Linked DNA regions of Homo sapiens: regions 1, 2, 3, 5 and 6 are each linked to region 4. The links are contacts of gene promoters, found by promoter capture Hi-C in blood cells and fetal thymus (Javierre and others, 2016). All regions are on one chromosome and are shown on one strand. The core of a region is centred on a gene start or on the middle of the fragment in contact, and the rest is flanking DNA. Distances in the headings are between cores, read along the strand shown. Region 1 has its middle 23 kb from the start of LINC01832. Region 2 has its middle 5.7 kb from the start of LINC01832. Region 3 has its middle 15 kb from the start of LINC01832. Region 4 holds the start of NXPH2 (neurexophilin 2). Region 5 has its middle 79 kb from the start of LINC01832. Region 6 overlaps LOC107985948 (a long non-coding RNA gene).

Region 1 (3,143 bases), core at 633-3,132, 650 kb before region 4:
AATGACTTGATAAAGTAGCTTCAGCAAACTGGTGTGGAGACCAGATTATAAAAGCCTTAGGGATGAGTGAGTGGTGAAGAACTGGGAGAGAAAGTAGACAAAATAATGGAATGGCATCCTAAAAATGTAGCTGTGTGGGGAGAAGGGAGTATCAGGAGAAGAAGACATGACAGGTTGTGTGCTGAGAGACAAGGGAGAGAAAAAGATTTAAGATATAAGTGCATGTGTGTGGGGGGTTGAGGGTGGGAATTCTAGAGCAATATTCCAGAGAAAGCAGAAGGCTTGAGCTCAATCTTAAGGCTGGAAAACTCATCTCAGATAAGGAGCAGAGACACTTCATTGTCAGGGACAGAGAACAGAGGGGCAGGCTAGTGATAACTAGATAAGAAATTCTGAATGATGGAAAGGAAGACTAAGGAGTTGTTGTTCATTAACTTTTACTCTTAAAGGAAGCAGAGTTTGGATATCTGAGTTTGAAAAACACAGAAATATTTATAGTCATTTTTTAAGGGAACTGGTAAGGAGATGTTTCTTAGCTGCAAACTATAGACTGTATCTAGTTAATTTTGGTAGAGGTAAATAAAATTTATTACGGATACTGAGTAGCTGACAGTATTATCAGGAGGTCCAAAGAGCCACAGAGAGTCATGGGACGATACTCAATGCATGAAAATGACCCACGAAAATACCACTGCTGTTAATGTGTGTCACCTATATCTCAGTTCATTGAAATATCAAAGCTTAAGATCGGACATTAAATGCCTCTGAGGAGCCAAATGCTTGGAAGCACTTGGAACCACTAATTGCTGAAAGATAGACTCAATGAGTGTCTATGACATCATATTGCTCCCTTCTGTAGGAAAGACTGCTGTTTGTACCCCAACATATATTCCCTCCATCTCTCATTGTAATATATTCTCTCCATCTGTCATGTTGGTCACATGGCCAGCCGCTCAGAGTAAAAACTACATTTCCTAGCCCCCACTTAATCAAATTGTGGCCAGTTTAGGCCAGTGGAAAATAGAAGTTATTTTATGTTAGCTTTTAGTATAGCGAAGATGAGTCACACTCCCTGGGGTTGTGAACTAATCACTTGAAAGGAGTCTTGTCCCTATGGATTTCTGAGACCAAAGCATGATATCAGTCTAGGATGATAGATCTTTACTCTTCTATAAGAGCAAGTAAACTTCTATCTTATTTTCCTAACTCAAAAAAATCTTTTCATGGGTGTGTCTGATGGGTGGCCCAGATCCCCTTCCTGCACCCAGACAGCCAGGGAGAGTGAGGGAATGAATTCACTTCCCACCCTGGCAGCCGGGTTTATAATGTTGAGAATGTCTCCCAGATAGAAGAGCTATTCAAAAGATGTTAGGTAACGACTAACAAAACAGTTGTTTGTTTATAACAGGGGTGGTGGTCGGGGGGACGGGGGGAGGAAAGGAGAAGGGAGGGAGAGAGGAAGAAGAAAATAATAATGAGCAGTAAAAGGGCACAAAAGAGCATGAATTAATCCAGGTCTGATTTTATGGTATTTTTTTTTAATCTTAATACTCTGGAATTGGGAACAGAAACTAGTCTTTACCTAGTAAAAATGTTATTGAATCACCAAACTGTAAAATTCAGATTTGATATAGAAACCGAGGTGGAGAGAAATGAAAGGCAGGACAACATTCCTTCCCTTGTGCTTCTTCAGCCCCAGTAGGAGGGTAGGTACGAGAAGGAGTATTGAGGACTGAGTGATGTGAGAAGCAGGCAGGGGTTTGAAGTCAGATGTGGATATGACCCTAACTCCGCCCAACATACTAACTCTAAAAAGTTACGCAAGTTAATTGCTCCTTTGAGCTCATTTCTTCATTAGTAAGATGGAAATAATTGCAGTACAAGCCAATAAAAGTATAGTACCAGGGACAGAATTTGCTCAGCTCTCAGCTCAGTGCTTACTGCATTGTGTAAACCCTCAAATTCTTAGTAAACACTTTTTAATAAAGCTCAAGTGCTTCTCTTACTCTTCGACTCTCATCTCATGCCATAGGTTTAGGCAAACAAAAATATCTCGTCCTACCTGGAATCGGAAACCACCCTGCATAATTCAAGCCATTCTCAGAAATAGCATTTGGACAAAGGGAAGAAAAGTCATGACTCACAATTAGAGGATGGAATCCTCAGGAAAAACCAACATTAGCATCTAAACAAGAAAATTAGCTTATTGACATTGAAAAATGTTGCTACATTTTCAATTTCATTAAAGCCTCCAATAGACAAACACATTTATTTCTGTGCTATGTGTCTGATAGCAGGAAGGGCCAGAAACATCAGTCTACAAGCTCTGGGACTCTAGACTGTGACAGTGCTGATGAAATATATGTTTGCTGAGAAGACGTACGATCTCGACTATCTGTGACCATTGAAATATTAAGGAAATTACTTATAAAACAGATAAAAATCCATTAAGAGAGCATAGCCTAGAAACCGCAGAGGAGGAAGGGAAGGACTAATTTCCAATCCTTCTTGAAAATAAAAAAAAGAATTTTTTCCCCTTGTTATTATCCTCATGAAATTAAATTTCATTGTGCAGTTCTCATCTTCATAATTACTAGGTTGCTTTGAGAATTAGATATAAAAAGCCACCTCATATACAGGTAGCAGCTGATTTTTCTAAATATTACATTTTAAAAATGATAAAAGAGGAAGGAATAACATTTCAAATGATCATTATAATCACCATGCTTGTTCTGTGTCAGCCCACCCACCTGACTCAATGCATTCATTTACAGGCATTGAGGCAGGACACCTACAAGCATCCCCGCCCCCAACCTTAAAACCATCTGGATCCATACAGGAATAAGATCCACATGAATACGTACTTGACTTTTAGAAGTCCAGAGGCTGGGAGCCTGGAAACCTGTAGACAGGTCTTGAGAGGTGTAGTACGCTGAATAATTGCCCAAAGATGTCCATACCCTAATCACCTGGAACCCATGAGTATGTTGCCTTACGTGGCAAAAGGGATTTGGCAGATGTGAGGAAGCTTATGGACTTTGAGATGGGAAATTGTCCTGGGTTAGCCAGGTAGGTCCAATCTAATCACATGCGTGCTTAAAAGCAAAGGCCCTTTCCTGCCTCTAGTTACTCAGAGAAAGGTG
Region 2 (3,208 bases), core at 24-2,523, 670 kb before region 4:
AGAGGCTGGGGTCCTTTGTGATTGTTGTGGATCCACATCAGGAAGAGAAACCCTTTAAGGAGAAGAATATGATATTTTCATTTGCATAAAAACAATAAAACTCTTTCAGCAGCAATTTCCCCTATATAAAAAGTGAGAACACAGCACCTTGGTGACACAGACATCTGTTACTTAAACAGATGCCACCTTCTAAACTCACTCAAGCAACCCTCTGCTCAACCAGAGACCCCTAAACCAAAATTCAATGCGTGGATAGAACAATATGTGCAAAGGGTGCTTTCAGTAATGATGGGTTTTACCTCCCAGCATCATTATGAATTTGCTTGACTTTTTTGTGTTGTTACTTTAGCAAAATCTCCTCCATCATTTCTCTCAGTAATGTCTTTTTTCTAACTTAACCTCCACAATCTGCAAAATCAAATGGTTCCTTCTAAGATTCATTGCTGATTAGCACTAGCCCTTCAAAGGCTAAACCATGGCTTTTGTTTGTTTCTTTCTTTTTGCAGATGCACTTTAATGACTTCACAGGACAAGGCTCTAACACTATCTAGGAGAGAAATGAAAGTTAGTTCCTTTTTTTTCTTTTCCAGTAGCACAAAGGGTCCCTGCTGATGTTTTCCAGTGAAGCAATACTCCCCTAGCCTGAGACTGATAAGTGCCTTCAGAAGTTAGGCTTACACTTCTAAATCAGCAGTTCATGAAAGGCATTACGAAAAACTATTATACTGCTATAATGCTATAATGGATGACAGCACAGTTGTATATGTTACACCTTGAAGTAAGCAGTAGGATTTTCCATCACTTGATAACCTTGAAACTGCTAAGGTATCAAATTGCTATCATGAATATTGTGCAGGAGAAGAAATAACTCAGGAAGCTGCCTTTGTGAATAATAATCAGAAAACTGCAACATTTTTACTGAGAAAATGGATTTGAGGCACTGGTGTATTGACAAGCTTTCTAACAGGAAACTAAGGTAGACATTACAAGTACATTTACATTGAGCTATGCATCAATCCATCATTCAGCATTCGATTTGTAAGTTCTAATCAGTTAAAAATATTATTAGCAAAGAATTATGTGGTATGTTAAAATTTCCAGGATAAAGGGTAAGGAGAGCCCACATGCTATTTTGTAGCTGAAAACAATAAATAAAAATGTTTGTTTGATATTTCAACTTCTCAATGTACTCTGAAATCTAACTCATTCCAGCAGAATATAGAGATGAGGTTTGGGAAGTGAGGATTTGTTTAATAGGCATTTAAATCAATTGCAGCATGAAGACATGGTAGGAACAGAAATAGTAAATGTTTATTACACCTCTCTTTTTTTTTCTAAAATACATATGTTTAATTTTGCCAAATCCTGGCTTTGTTCATGAGCAGAGCACCTAGTATTGGTCCGTAGCATTTTCAGACAACAAAGTCTACCGAGAACCCTCGACAGCTATGTGAAAACTCAATGTCTGGAGTGATTCATCATTATGTCAGACTGGCCAGCACTTTGTCACAGTGACTGACAATGGGAGAAACTTGGAAATAATACAAAGATTCTCTGTTCACTGATAGTGTCTGAAGTGTGATTAGAGAAGAAAGCTTTGAGACTGTGAGGAGAATCTTAATTTTCCCCCAAAATTAATTTTGATATTTTACCCTTCGTTGGAAAAATTCCACCTAACTTTTTCATTGTCTTACTCAAAACTGGCCACTTTCATTTTAAATAGTGTCTGGAGCTTGCTTATTGAACTTCACTGCACATTCAACAGCTTAGTAGGTGGGGTGAACAATTTTTCAATAGTGTAAGACCAGCTACACTGGCTTTATACTGGGCTACTCTATCCAGTTGAGAAAGGTAAACGCCCTCCAGTTAATGGTTGATAGTGGTGTCAATACAACCTAAATTAACTCATGCCTTACCCTTTTCTTGGAATCTGGAATCATTTTATACTATTCAATATAGCAAAATTCTAAAAGGGTAATGATATTAATTCCTTACTTCAGGTAAACTATTGCTAGACAAAGTAATGTAATGCATGGGCATTACATTTAGAGGTGCTGGGGAGCAAAGGTAATGGCTTTCATTTATTTCCCATCCCCTCTATGGGAAATAAATGAAATAACATCTTTTATGGATAGTAGATCAATGATTCCACCTTCTTATTAAAAAATTTAAAAAGCTAAAATGGATCCTATCCAGAAAAATGTGATTACAAGAGGAGTAAATTATTAGAGGGGATAATAATAAAAACTAGCATTTGTTGACATTGTGTGCCAGAAATTACATAGATACCATCGCATATATTCCTAAGAAAATTTGAGATAAGAATTACCATCACCATTGTATAGTTTAGAAAATGGAGAATCAGAGAAGAATAAGTATACAATTGGTGAATGGTAGAACTCGAATTTATGTCCAAATATGCCTGCTTCCAAAGACAATAACCATCAGAGTAAACAGAAAATTTAAAGTGAGATACATGAAGGATAAAGTTAAGGAATATAAAAAGATATGCAGTCAAATATCTATCAAAGTGATGGTCTCAAGATGCACATCACTTCCCTTCATCACTCTCCCATCTCCCTCAAAATCTCATTGCTTTACGTTAAAGCAGAATGTCCTCACCATGACCAAAGTAGCGATGTGTGATCCAGGTCTGACCTGCCTCCCAAACCTCATTTTCCAGCACCTTGTCCTTCTCTCTATTGCACCCTCACTGGCTTACTGGTGGTGCTTTTTATCTGTCATGCCCTCTCCTGACTTTTGCTGTTTCTAGTTACTAAAATTCTCTTCTCTATCCTCTTACCTGGTTAAATTCTTTCCATCCTCCACAGCTCAGTTAAAGAACACCATCAGGAGGTTGGATTCCCCTTATCATATGAACCACATACCTTTCTTTTATTGCCTTTGTCAGAATTGTAACTTACATTTGTTAGAATGATTATTTCATTTATACCTGCATAATACACTTGCCTAATATCTCCAGTGACTAGCTCTCCCTGCTACATAAATAGAGGCTCATTAACTCTGAGAGAATGAATGAGTAAATGGATAAATAGTTTTTATCTATATTCCTTCTTATAGCTTGTATTTAGAGTTTTATTTGATTTTTATTGCAACTCAAGGACAAAAAAATTAGGTATCACTTTCTCATTTTACTGAAGAAGAAATTAATGCTCAGAGATGTTTAATACATACCTAAATTTACATG
Region 3 (3,062 bases), core at 474-2,973, 690 kb before region 4:
TTCATGTCTTTGGCCTACTTTTTAATGGGGCAGTGTGTTTTTTTCTTGTAAATTTGTTTAAGTTCCTTGTAGACTCTGGATATTAGATCTTTGTCAGATGTATAGATTGCAAAAATTTTCTCCCATTTTGTAGGCTGTCTGTTCACTCTGATCATAGTTTCTTTTGCCGTGCAGAAGCTTTTTAGTTTAATTAGACCCCATTTCTCAATTTTAAGCATAATAATTTTTATTGACCTTAGACCTTAGACATATCTCTACATTTGCCAAGGACTGGGTACATTTGCTGGTAAGCCCACTTCTTCGCAACCATTTCAGTTTCTGTCACTTGGCTGATACTCCGTAAAAGTTCCTGCAGGCAGAGCTTTTCTGAAAACTTCTCTTCGGCAAACTCTATACTGTCAAAAGTGAATCTCCTTCACTGGACTGTAAGCTATTTCCCCAGGACCTTGTACAGTGCCTGGCACATAGTAGGAAGAAATCATTTAGATGAAGCACAATTTGAACATAGTTCTCCTCACATTGAATTTAGCAACCAGAATCTTTAGATAAAGAAAAGTGTTCACTTCTTAATTTTATTTTGTATATCACTATAATCTTTTTAGTATCTTTAGTAGCTGAAACAACCACTCGGGTGGTTTTAGATGACTTTGTGACCAAATATTTGTAACATCAACTCACTTATTTTTAAAATGATATTACTACCCCTCATTAGATCTCTGTTATTTCTTTGTTTATAAAATGAGGGTGTGGATCAAATGATTTATCAGATCCTTTGCATCTTAAATTCTCTATAATTCAAATAGCACCCACTGGTTCCTCTTATCTCTAATAATTCTGGGGTAACCTGGCACACTTTTCTTATGCAGTTTCCCTTAGAGCAATGGACTAGCAACATCAACAACAACCAGAAACTTGTAAGAAGCACAAATTCTTAGAATTCACTCCATCTCCACAGTCTATTCTAAGGAGTGTTAAGTTTAAGAACTGGCCCCTGCTTCAAGAGATGACATCATTCCTCTCCCTTCAGTCTGAGTCCTTTTTTCAAACATCAACACTGGCTCCAACACTGCAGCAGCTGCCAGCAAACACCTCCCTGTGTTCTTCAGAGAGGAGAGCATCTGGAGAGTTCTTTACATTCTACTTGTCCTGCCTTTATGACCCAACACAATGTCTTTGTCAGCCTCATTAAAGAATTATAAGGTTAATTTTACTTCCCCCCAAATACATAACCTCTTTCCAAAATGGAGTGTCAGTTGATAAGCAAAGGCTGCCTGGCTAAGGAAAAAATGGAGAGAGGGTGTTTGTTGTATGCGTGTGTAGTGAAGGATCAAATCAGAGACTAAAAGTCAAGCAAAGCTACTGTGCAGGCATCACATTCATGAAGAAGCTTAAACTTAGAACTTTGACATAATTTTTAAATCACTTTGTATAAACTCACAGAAGTACACTGTCAAAATTGAAAGATGGCCATCATTTCTCTTGTGTCTCATACTGGATCACACTGCCTGTAGTGTATTGTGAATTATTTAAAAAATTAAAATTTACCTCATAGACAACATAATTGTATTGCAGTGGGTTTTCATAAAGGTGTTTAATCTGTTAGTCTATTAAATTCTTGGGGCCCATTTTTGCAATTATTCACTGTAATTGACCAGGATCCTCAATATATTGACTTGCCCTGTCCACTCTGAGGGGCTCTGGGGAGATACTTAGGATGCTCTATGTGTAAGGGCCCAACATTAGGCCCCAGATGGATACAATTCAACCTATGCTAATAACTTCCCCCATAAAACTAAACTCCATGAAGCATTCAAGGCACTTCCTAATTTTGTGTCTTGTTTAATTCTCTTCAAAAGTCAACAAACATTCCCCAAATTCTCACTGTTGCCAGACCGTGTATTAATGCTGAGGAAACAAAAATGAAAATGACAGACTGTATTCTCAAAATGCTCACAGACTGCCAGGGAAAAAGACTTGACCAATAGGCACAATTTATTATAATAAATACCGTAAGGGTAGTATGTACACAATACAGAAATTCACTTTAATTAGGGAAGAGAAAGCTTGCTGAAAAAGACATGCCCCAAGTAATGGTTCTGGCACATTGCCATTACACTTTGCAGCACAGGGACAGTTCTGGCAGAAGCCAAGGTGTCTGAAATCAGAGCTATTGCAAGGAGCCACAACAAGTAGCTGGGTTTTGCTGCAGGCTAAAGGGAGTGAAGGGGGAGTGGGAGCAGATGAGCCCACCTCTGCCTCATGGGTTTCTTAAATCTCTAAACTGCTCATTCACTCCAACACCTATTCCACATTTGTTGACAGCTTTATGGCCAAGAAAATCCAGGATACTGAACACAGGGACTTGTTAAGCTCCACCCTGCAGGTCTGCCGGGGCACCCAGAAGCTGGCACCCAGGCTACTCAACAGCCTGGAGGCTGACACCAAGCTCCGAGTTCTCCTGCCTGGAAGGTGTAGAAGACCGAAAAATATTAAAAAAAAAAAAAAAAAAAAAGTTCTGCGTTAGTGCAAACAGATCCGTATATCAGCAGAGAGTTATCAAGGTTAATGAGAAAAATTATCTCATCGGAACAACCCCCAGTTGGAGGCACCGGCGCCGAGCTGCAGCCTCTCTAATCTGGGAGAGCTGGGTCTCCCGTGCAAAGCGATCCATCAAAGTCACTTGCTGGCCTTCCCGCCTTCCCCAGGAACATGGCCCCCTTCCTCTGGCTGGGAAGGAAAGCAGGCAGCAGTGAGGGGAAGGGTCCCTGCAGTGGGCAGCAGAGCACAAGGGGACACCAGGTACACAGAGAAGCAGAAAAGGAAACAGGGGCCGTGCCCCAAACCTCCTGGCTGTGAAGAAGCCAAGAACTGAGGATGCCCAAGCAGGTGCCAGAGGAAGGAGAAAAATGTGTGCCTTACACACACACACCCGCACTCTACAGCACACCACACATACACACAACATGGGCATATACTGTACACTCACCCACCCACCTGTGCGCACACACACACACCCGCACTCTACAGCACACCACACATACACACAACATGGGCATATACTG
Region 4 (3,501 bases), core at 457-2,956:
ACAAATGCTGCTTTGTTAGATCACCTTTTATTAGAATCCAGACTAAAAAATTTTAAAGCAAGGGATACTAAAGATTAATGTGGCATATATTTTGGATTCATAATGCCTAAGATGTAAAATGTATTTTAACATGGAGTATTGTAGATAGCCAGTATGTGATGGCTCATTCAAGGATATTTGGGCATATCATTGCATTTTCTTCTTGATGCCATTGAAGAGTTTCTGAGTTAACGCTGTGCAGGTGAAGCTAATCTCCACCGTAACAAGCATGGACCACGGGCATCTCAGAGGTCTCTCCACCTTTTAGAGTTCCTTCCACCCTCAGAACTTGCAAAGTGCCTCTGCCTTAACAATATCATACATATCATAAACTTTCAAAGTTACTTGATTTTCCCCCTAATAGGAAAAGAAAGAGACAAAGAGAACGAGAGAGAGAGCGAGCGAGAGAGAAGAGACTGTCATCTTCTAAGTGCTTGGGCAAAGTCTTAAGTATGAGGACCAAAGAAACTATGGCATCAGGAGAAAGCCCTCTTAATAGCACCCTAACAAGGCAAGAGCTAAGTGACCAGAAGAAATCCATCACAGATGCTGACCCAGCCAAAGCACTCCCCTTCTGTAATTTTACTTTAAAAGTTTCTTCTTGAAGATCTTACTTTGGTTTTCCCTCAACTATAATTAGCCATGCATATAGAACATAGGCGTATATCAGGAGGAGGAGAGCGTGGCGCCTCGCGGGAAGAGAGAAGAGAGTGACAACGCGAACCCCAAACCACATTTTAATACGTTTCTTATTCCTCAGCGCCTCCGAGCCACCCAGACCAGGCGGGCGGTCTCCCTGAAAAGACAGCTTCGAGATGCCCGAGAGGGGGCTCCTGCGCGGAGCTGGGCATGAAAGTTATATCTTGTGTCCCCAGCTGGCAGAAAGCCCCATCCCAGTCCCTAGCGCCAGACGGAAAACGAAGAGAAATCCAAGCTGTCCCCCAAATCCGTATTTTGCCTAAGTTTTCTCCCAGCAAGGCGCCACTACCTGGCTCTGAGAACGAGGATGCATGCACTATGCTGTGCTTTGGGAGAAGTGTCTGTGTGCATCTGGGCAAAACACCACGTGAAAAATAAACACCACCAAGCCTCTCAAACTGTGAACAGGAGGAAGGTCTTTCTGCCCCTTCTCATCCTATCAATTTACTTTCCTTCCTCTCCTTGACCGCTTATCAATAAACCGCTTCCTTCTCCCGGACCTACTTCCCGGCCACCTTCTGCCTACTTTACCCCAGCGCTCAAGTCCCAACCCGTGCTAAGCCCCTGAGTCGCCTGTAGATCCCGTCTATTCCGTTCTTCAATTCTTCCCTTTCGACCTCTAAGGCAACCCAAAACTCCTTGCCCTCCGCGCGCCCCCAACCCCACTTCCCAAGCAGGCCCAGGCTGGGCTCCAAGTCAGCCGCCTGCGCGGTTTTCCCGCCGAAACGCGTCCCCGGCGTGTGGGACGGCGCGCGGGCCGGGCACTCACCAGCTGCAGCAAGCCAGGGACCACCACGAGGGGCAGCGGCCGCAGGCGCATGGTGCCGGCTGGCGCGGCTTTTCACGAGCTGCGCGCCCTCGCCTGCCTCTCGCGCATCTCCACTTCGCGGGGCAGGACTGAGGACGCCAGGGACACAGCGCGGCGCTTCCCTCCCGGAATCCGAGCGCTGCGCCGTGCCGCGCAGCTCTGGCCGGGTGGGCGGGCAGGGAAGGGGGAGGGTGGGCGGACCGGAGGTGCCTCTCCCGGCCCCCCGCGCGCCCCTCCTCGGAGGGGGCCGGCAAAGAGCCTGCGGGGCAGCTCGAGCTCCGGCACGCGGCGGGGGGCTTCAGTCGCGCCTTGGACTCTCCCGCTTGGCCGGGCTTGGGGTGAGCGCGTGGGGCGCCTGCGGGAGGGAGGCGGCGGCTCGGGCGCTTGGGTGATGGGTTCAGTGCGAGGCTGCCCTCCAGATCCGATCCCGCCGGGCGGATGCCTGGCCGAGCTGAGCACGCCTGGCCAGCCGGTGCCCCAGAGCCCCGAGAGGCCGGGTGCCTCCTCCCACCCCCGCCCAGCAGAAGGCCGGTCCGAGAGGCTCCACTGTGCCAAGCGCCCTGCCAACTGACTGGCTCTCGCTTTGGCTGGGGAGATTGGGGATGAGGGGAAGAAAAGGTTCTCCCTGGGTGGCTGCAAGAAAGAGTGCGCCCGCCTGGAGAGCGCCCAGAGAGTTTAGGAGGGGAAGGCGATTGCAGAGTCCTGGGGCGGGGCGTGGGGAGCTGCGAACGGAAAAGGCTGGGGCGGGGAGGTGAGGCTGGAGCCCAGGACGCCCTGGGAGAGTGCCCTACTCTGCCGCAGCGCCAAGCTCGCAGAGCCGCGGGTAAGGGGTACAAAGTGCGCCTGGTGCGGCTGGAAGGATTTCTGGGGTTGGGGAGTAATGGGGACCTCGAGGGACCAGGAGCAGAACTGTGAGAAACGGAGCTAGGTGATGTCTGGTTTACTCCGGTTTGGGGATGGTATAGACAGCTAGGTGTCCTGAAGACAGACAAAGTTGCTCCCAGACCTTCTGCCCGGGCTTTGGAGAAGCAGAATAAAGGCAGGATACCCCACCACAGCCTCCGACTTCAGAAATATTGGAGAGGGGTATCTTTGCGGACGGGCGAAGGTGCAAACCTGATGCCTGTGAGCCTCGACCTCCGTGTTAACAACTCGCCATTGGAGAGATCCTTAACCTTTTACTATCTTTGTGCTGGACACTCGAGTGGAAAAATCAAAGGCAATGGGGCTCACAGACCTGCACTGTTTTTACGGTAGATCAGAGTTTGGGCGTCATTCGTCACTCCTTTATTGAACAGGTGGGAAACCTAAGGTCCAGAGAGATACATTCACTTCTCCAAGGATGAGACTTTAGGCAGTTGCTCCGACAGAATACCCAAGGCGAGAATGCTTCTTACATCTAGAAACGCAAAGCTCTTAGAGAAGAAAACCATGTTGAAGCAAGGGAGTAGAATTGCAATTGATTTCTAGGCTTTAAAAAATAAACCCAACAAAAAGCACAGATTAAGTTGTAATTTTTGGACAAAAAAAAAAAAGTTTCCTTCTCCTCTGCTTACCACCCCCACCCCAAAATAGAAATGAAGGAGGGTTGTTAAATCTTAGCGGTTGAAGCAGAGCAGCCTTGGTCCTAGGTTTCAAAGGCAGGAGGATTGCTTTGACTAGGGCAAAATCCTACTATTCCTTTCACTGAGTGTGCCAAGATTGTGCAGATGGGGAGGGAGGTTATTCCAGAGTGTTCTGGGATCCCAGTGTGAATTTGAGAGTGTGTTGTCCTTGAGCCTGCAGGTAGGGTATCTTTCCAGTACAACTCCATTTCCTGTAGGGGGGGAGAGTGGCAAGCAAGGGGCATGCATCCTCCCTAAACCCTTGCTAAGCCTGACTGGGGGTTCCATGGTAAAGGATGCACCAGCTGCATCCCATTTCTGCTTGATCTCAGACTCTCCTTTTGCCTTGCA
Region 5 (3,090 bases), core at 363-2,862, 600 kb before region 4:
ATAATACTACCTTCCTCATAGCAATTATTGTGATGAAGACATGGTATATTTAGAGTTTGAAACAGCAAGCCTTCACTAAATAGCAATCCAAAGGGATTCAGAGGTAATTTAGAATTTGCATTAGTGTAATCCTTACTGCTTTCCATAACTTTGATTGGCCCTGCTGACAATTCACAGATATGCCAATCTATTTGCCTAACTAGCTGTCTTCTGCTTGCCACTCTAGATTCACTCTTTGCCTTTCTTCCCCCTTCTCTGCACTCCTGGAAGCTGACCTGTGTCTCCTACTTCTGTGGGTTCTCAAGCCCCCCAGTTTCCTATTGGGCTGGCCAACAGGATGCAAGGGGAAGAAATCAGAGAACAGGAGGAAATGAGGTCAAGACATCTATTCACCCCATAACCTTCCTTTTGGGTCATCATATGTTGGCTGCGTGCCTCCATTAAAGGTCAAAGCTGTTGACAGGTGACTCTCTTCATATAGCCTCTATCTGGATTCCAATAACTTCTCAGTCCCATTGTTTTTCAAACCTGGGTGTGATAATGGCTTCCCAGTGTTTCTGTGCCCTATGGAACTCCACTATACTCTCTTGGTTTCCTAACCACATCTTCGTAAATAATCTCTCCCTAATTATTCCCAGTTTGAATGTGTCACCTTTTTCCCACCAGGATCTTCACTAAGATATTCACAAACGGGCAGATTTCCTCATACCAGCCTCATAGGTATGATAATAGGTTTGCCAGCAGGGAAAGGGACAGAAGTGCATGCTTCTGTACATGTAAATGTACAGAAAATGTAGACCAAGACAGCTATCATTAATTCCAGTGTATTTCAAGACACCACATGTAATGCATCAGGTACGCACATGCACACACACTCACACATACATGCACACTCAGAATCATGCTGGGAATGGAAAAAGTGTTGTATAAGAAGATGTCAAGATCAGCAGCTCTCAACTTTTTGCTGCTAAGAGATAGTCGAGTCTCCCATGAGTAACTGGCTTTCACTATGTCCATGATTTCCAAAAGTGGATTAGTAGTGTTTTAGAATTAATGGATCTTAAAGAGCGATTTTCAGAATTTTCCAGGAGATTCTCACATGGCTCTTATTGCAGGAACAGAATAAAAGAAAATGAATAACAGTACAAATATTTAGGGCTTTGGGGTCTTACATAACTGAACATAAATCCTAAATTAGCCACCCTTTTTAGCACTGTTCAGAGTGTTTTTCATCTGTAAAGTTAGAATATTGAAGCATTGTTATAAGAATAAAGAGATTTATGGGCATTATTTATTTTACACATATGTATTAACATAATGCATTTAAAATGGCATTTCCTAAATGCTTGCTGTATCACTGGAAGGCAGCTATCAACATTACCAGGATGTAGAAGCAGTGTATATGCAGAAGTGGAGGGTAGGGGGCTCCCTTTCATTCCATTCCAAGAAGCCTGGACTATGGGGAAATTTGGAGTGAGAGTATGAAAATGAAAACACAAAGGAGAAGGTCTGACATGCAGCAACAGAAGTGATCCTTCCAGACTTTGAAAATCTGTTATGAGGGACTTCTGATCCATTATCATTTTCTGCCTTCCTTAGATCAGTATTCCCTTTAGACAGTTCTTTTCAGTCCCCACTATTACTCAACAGCTCATGGTGATGCCCCTTATCCTGTGTAACCTTTGTGGCCTGTTATTGAGTGCCACACAGAAAAAGCAAGGAAAGACCTTGCTGCTAACAGTGTCAATAGATTGAGCAGTCCTGTAACCCAGAGCTAAATCTCAGAAGAGGAAATGAGATGCTCAGATGATTTCTGCTGAGAAACTGAACTCAAACACTTCCCACATTCCTGTATCAAATGCAATCTATAGCTCTATTGCTCAAAAAAATTGACTTTGTGGAATTGACAAATATATAATTACATAAAAACAGAAAAGCCTTCCAGCTTCAGTATTCTACAACTCTGTTTAACTAGTTCTTACCCTTCATGGGGCACAAAACGTTTAGAAATAAAGCCTTCCAGCTTCAGTATTCTACAACTCTGTTTAACTAGTTCTTACCCTTCATAGGGCACAAAACGTTTAGAAATAAAGCCTTCCAGCTTCAGTATTCTACAACTCTGTTTAACTAGTTCTTACCCTTCATAGGGCACAAAACGTTTAGAAATATCTAGCATCAAACCGACCCTAACTTGCAGCCCATCTCCTAACAGGCTTAAAGTACCTGAATATTTTCAATCTGTTAGCACATCAATGAAAAAAATTAATTGCTAAGGGCACTTCACTAGATACCTTTAATGTAGCAAATAAACCTCAGGCCTAGCCTTTGCTACTCATATCTAATTGAGGCATGACCTGCCATGTGTCAAGACACAGTTAGCAATGCACATGTGGTTACACACATCCAGATGAGGGAAGTAGCAGAGGGAAAAGTGGAGGCAGGTACTGTCCAGATACTAACTCAAAGGAAAAACCTACTCTTGACAGTCACTTTTGACATATTACTTTGTTAAACCCTCATAACAATTTTGTGGGGCAGACATTATCATCTCTGCTTTACAGAAGTAAACCGAGGTTAAATAGAGGTAGCATATAACAAACCGGAATTCAATCCCAGATATCTTAGATTGTAAAGCCTTTGTAATTTTAATCAGGTCATACTACATGTTCCCTTCCTAAGAGAACAGTTCTTAAAGGAGAGAATCAAGGCCCTAAAGAATAAAGACAGTTTGCAGATAAATAAAGCATAGCTGTATAAAGTGGAAAGAAGAGCTAACAAGTAGAAAATAGTCCCCCTCATGTCAAGGTCCAACACATCTCAAGAAAGGAACTGTGCATCCTTCTATTTTCAAGTTCAGAATTAAGCAAGCACCAGAGTATATATCAGCATATACTCAGTATATATCAGCCAGAGACTGGCTGATTCAGAGTATTCTAAGAGACAGCCTGATGACAAACACACACCTGTTACAAAGAATGTCATCAGCAAAGAAAAAACCTGCAGGTTGGTTTAACATGAAGGTGGGATTCTATTAGTGACCAAACAATGAGAATTCCTACAGAGATCCTGGAACAAAAGAGACTTCCAACA
Region 6 (3,245 bases), core at 161-2,660, 750 kb before region 4:
CTTCTTTTTACCTCTACTTCATTCTCGAGCCACTATTTATTTCTGCCTTTCCCTTTACAGAAAATTTCCTGGAAAGTGTTTTCTATATTTGCTGGGATTCATTTTCTTTCATAATTCTTCCTTGATTCCACCCCATGTTTTCTCCACACCACTCCATTAATGTTGCTCTTGGCAGCCCCATCAGTCTGCTCTTGGCAGACCTCAGATCCAGTGGTAAGTCCTTGGTGCTCAACTTATTCCATCTACTAGCAGTATTTTACATGTTCTATCTTGAAACACATTCTTCAATTGACTTTCAGGACACCCCCACCCCTGATGTTTTGCCTCACACCTCATTTGCCACTACTTTTTAAACTTCTTTTTGAGTTTTTCCTCATCTCCCTGACCTCTTAATGGTGGAGTACCAAGGACTTCATTTTGGAATTTTTATTTTCCTGTTTATGCTCACTTTCATTCTCTTGGGGCTTTACATACTGCTTAAGTACTGTTGATATGCTGACAACTCTAGAATCTCTCTCTCTCTCTCTCTCTGTCTATGAATTCTAGATTCATAGAAGCAACTACCTATGTCACATCCCCTGTTAAATGTCTAATAGGCTTACCAAGTTTAATGTGTCTAAATATTAAGCTTCTGATCTTCCTGACCCCAACCCCAAGCAAATATCTTCTATCTCATCTTTGCCCCATTTCAAATAATGCCATTCTTCCAGAAACTCTGGCCAGAAACCTTGAATTCTTCCTGGAGTCCTTTCTATTTCTCACATCCTATCCCAAAATGATGCTAAATCTTTTCCACCTCTTTTCCTGAATGTCCTTTACCCAGAAAACCCATGACTCTCTTCTTCACCTCCATTGGATTTTTACTTAAATGCCACTCTGAGGCCTTCCCTGACCTTGTATTTAAAATTTCAACCCCCTATTCTCAACACGTACTATCCACTTCCCTGCATTATTTTTCTCTGTTGCATATATCCCCACTAAAAAAAATGTTATTTATTTATTTTGTTTATTGTCTGTTTGTCTCTCCCATCCTTCCACTGCAATATTATACATTCTTTGAAGACAGGACATTTTTTTTATTTGCTTACTGCTCTATCCCCAGTACCTAAAACAACACAACACATGGTAGGAACTCACTAATAGTTATAGAATGTGTTAGGAATACCTCTTTCAAGTAACCATTTTGAGGCTTGCATCCCCATCACCCATCCTGAATATCACAAGGTTTCTTGTCTACTCCATGAGCGATAGGACCCCTTTGCTTTCCTGCTGAGAGTGAAGCAGTTCTCAGAGGGGAAGCCCAGTAATGTACTCTTGCATGAAAGAAAGCCTGTGGTTTTGATGTGTTAAGGCCTTGGGTATGATGGTTTGCTAGCATTAAGGTGGTGGTGAATAATTCCCTTCCTTCCTGCAATGCAGCATTTTGGGAGATAACAACATCTTATTTTCAGTCTGAATCATTTCTCATGACCTGTTCATTTTTAGCCGCATGCTCATTCTTCTGTATACCATAGTCATAGGTTTTTGTTCATCTCTGCACTGCCCTGCCCCACCCCACCCACCTTTTCTAAAGTCAGCCTCGATCAGCCAGGGTCCCACTAGAAGTACAGAACCCACTCTGAGGAGTTAAAACAAACACAGAGAATTGTTTCCACAGCTATATAGAATGCAGGGAGGATGCTGAGAAAGCATCCAGTACAGAGGGAGGCAAACCAGAAATGAGTGATGGTAGGAAGCTCCTACCCTAAGTCTGAAGGGACCAGAAGGGAGTGTTGTTACTGGAGCACTGGGGTGACAGTCACCTGGTGAAAAATGGAATCAGGGCAGTTCATCACAGGGTTTTCTGGAGACCCAGAGGAGAAACAGTGGCTCCTGGGAATCACACCCTAAATGCAGAAGAGGGAATTTCTCCCTCCTTCCCACCCACATCCAATCTTCCATTAGTACCTTTCTTGGCATAGGATCCTGGAAAACACAGTCTGCAGGGGTCAGCTAGCCTTCTCCCTCCACTGCTTCCCCACCCTTTGTGATACATAGCAGAGCAGGGGGAAATTTGAGAAACAGATCTGAAGGTAAACAGCTCCATGAACAGGCATACAAGTTGGGATTTTGGTCATTTCTAGCAGTCAGAAGTTAATTACCCCAGAAGATCTGAAGATGCCTATAAGAATCTTCAAGATATGAAGTACAACCAAGCTTACACTTAACAGCTTGGGGTAAGGTGGTGAGGTTTTGTTGTGGAGTGCTGACAGAAACTTAGGATAGTGCAGAAGGGGAGGGAGAGGAGGGCCTCCAGCTTTGAGGCTGTTTCAGTTCCCACTAGGGTCATCCCTCTCTCACTAACAGACCCATTCAGTGGGAGGTTGTGTCTGGGACTTGGGCACCAACACTCAGTTTCCCACTCACTTCCAGTGTTCACAGTTGTTGGCAAACTTCCTTCGCATTAGTGGGGCTCCGATTTTCAAGAATCCAGAAATTCTCAAAAGGGCTATTAAGCTATTAACCATAGTTCTAAAGGATCATATTGTGAAAGCTATAATTGCCTACAGTAGGTCCCAAATAGAAAAGTAAATATGAAACCTTCTTTTACAAAAAGTTAAATGATGGGAAAGAACTACTTTTGATTAGTTCTTTGATTAACCTTTATCTCTTGACTCATTATCTGAGTAGAATCACAAACTGAATCGCAAACTGAGTAGAATCACATGACTTTCTGGATGGAACTGTTCATATATTGTCATCTACCTGCAAAAATAGCAGGTATACCTATTACATCTCCCACCTAATAACAGATTATTTTACAGCTACTTTTTATTTAGTTAAATCTCAGCATTGACAGCTGGGTGCAGCCAGGAGATGAACACAAGCTTAGGGGAATCCTAAAGAAGTTGATCATGCCCTACTTGTTCAATGCCGTTTTACCAGCCCAAGGCAGATCCAAGTTGGGGGAGATAAAAAGCTTTAAATAGTATAAGTCAAAGATATTAAAAGTGTGGATGTTTCACTGGATTGGAATTTTAATATCTGAGAGAAGCTGAAGAAGCAATAGGATTACCCAGTGTGGAGGATAATGAGTTAAGAGATCAAGGTTAATAGAAAATTGTTTTCTGCTTTCATACACCAAATCCAGCTCATTCAATAGTTAGGTTTTTCAGAGAACAAATAACCTTGTGGATTGTGATTACCGTTGTGAACAAGGTGAGATCAGAAGAGGTCTCTTTCAGGCAATTGTCCTTGAACCTGAG

What was found. Contacts are between HindIII fragments. The CHiCAGO score rates a contact against its expected background, and 5 or more counts as called.
Region 1: a contact is called between a fragment that was not itself captured here and the fragment with the promoter of NXPH2 in region 4, in 1 of 17 cell types (M1 macrophages). The highest score is 5.9, in M1 macrophages.
Region 2: a contact is called between a fragment that was not itself captured here and the fragment with the promoter of NXPH2 in region 4, in 3 of 17 cell types (monocytes, M0 macrophages and M2 macrophages). The highest score is 6.4, in monocytes.
Region 3: a fragment that was not itself captured here is called in contact with the fragment with the promoter of NXPH2 in region 4 in 2 of 17 cell types (M2 macrophages and M0 macrophages); the score reaches 7.7 in M2 macrophages.
Region 5: a contact is called between a fragment that was not itself captured here and the fragment with the promoter of NXPH2 in region 4, in 1 of 17 cell types (M0 macrophages). The highest score is 6.9, in M0 macrophages.
Region 6: a contact is called between a fragment that was not itself captured here and the fragment with the promoter of NXPH2 in region 4, in 1 of 17 cell types (non-activated CD4 T cells). The highest score is 5.5, in non-activated CD4 T cells.

The regions. Positions count from the first base shown.
Region 1 is chr2:138,123,764-138,126,906 of GRCh38, forward strand. No RefSeq gene overlaps it. Among named protein-coding and RNA genes, the nearest start is that of LINC01832, 23 kb to the left of the region's middle. The HindIII fragment of the contact is 2,288 bases long and covers 739-3,026 here.
Region 2 is chr2:138,106,009-138,109,216 of GRCh38, forward strand. No RefSeq gene overlaps it. Among named protein-coding and RNA genes, the nearest start is that of LINC01832, 5.7 kb to the left of the region's middle. The HindIII fragment of the contact is 639 bases long and covers 955-1,593 here.
Region 3 is chr2:138,085,714-138,088,775 of GRCh38, forward strand. No RefSeq gene overlaps it. Among named protein-coding and RNA genes, the nearest start is that of LINC01832, 15 kb to the right of the region's middle. The HindIII fragment of the contact is 676 bases long and covers 1,386-2,061 here.
Region 4 is chr2:138,778,684-138,782,184 of GRCh38, forward strand. NXPH2 (neurexophilin 2) reads right to left here and starts at 1,707. Exons shown (of 2, transcript NM_007226.3): 1 at 1,508-1,707. The coding sequence starts at 1,558. The HindIII fragment of the contact is 12,898 bases long and covers 1-3,501 here.
Region 5 is chr2:138,179,472-138,182,561 of GRCh38, forward strand. No RefSeq gene overlaps it. Among named protein-coding and RNA genes, the nearest start is that of LINC01832, 79 kb to the left of the region's middle. The HindIII fragment of the contact is 4,520 bases long and covers 1-3,090 here.
Region 6 is chr2:138,029,250-138,032,494 of GRCh38, forward strand. It overlaps LOC107985948 (a long non-coding RNA gene), which reads right to left. Exons shown (of 3, transcript XR_001739719.2): 2 at 3,186-3,245. Among named protein-coding and RNA genes, the nearest start is that of HNMT, 66 kb to the left of the region's middle. The HindIII fragment of the contact is 1,568 bases long and covers 627-2,194 here.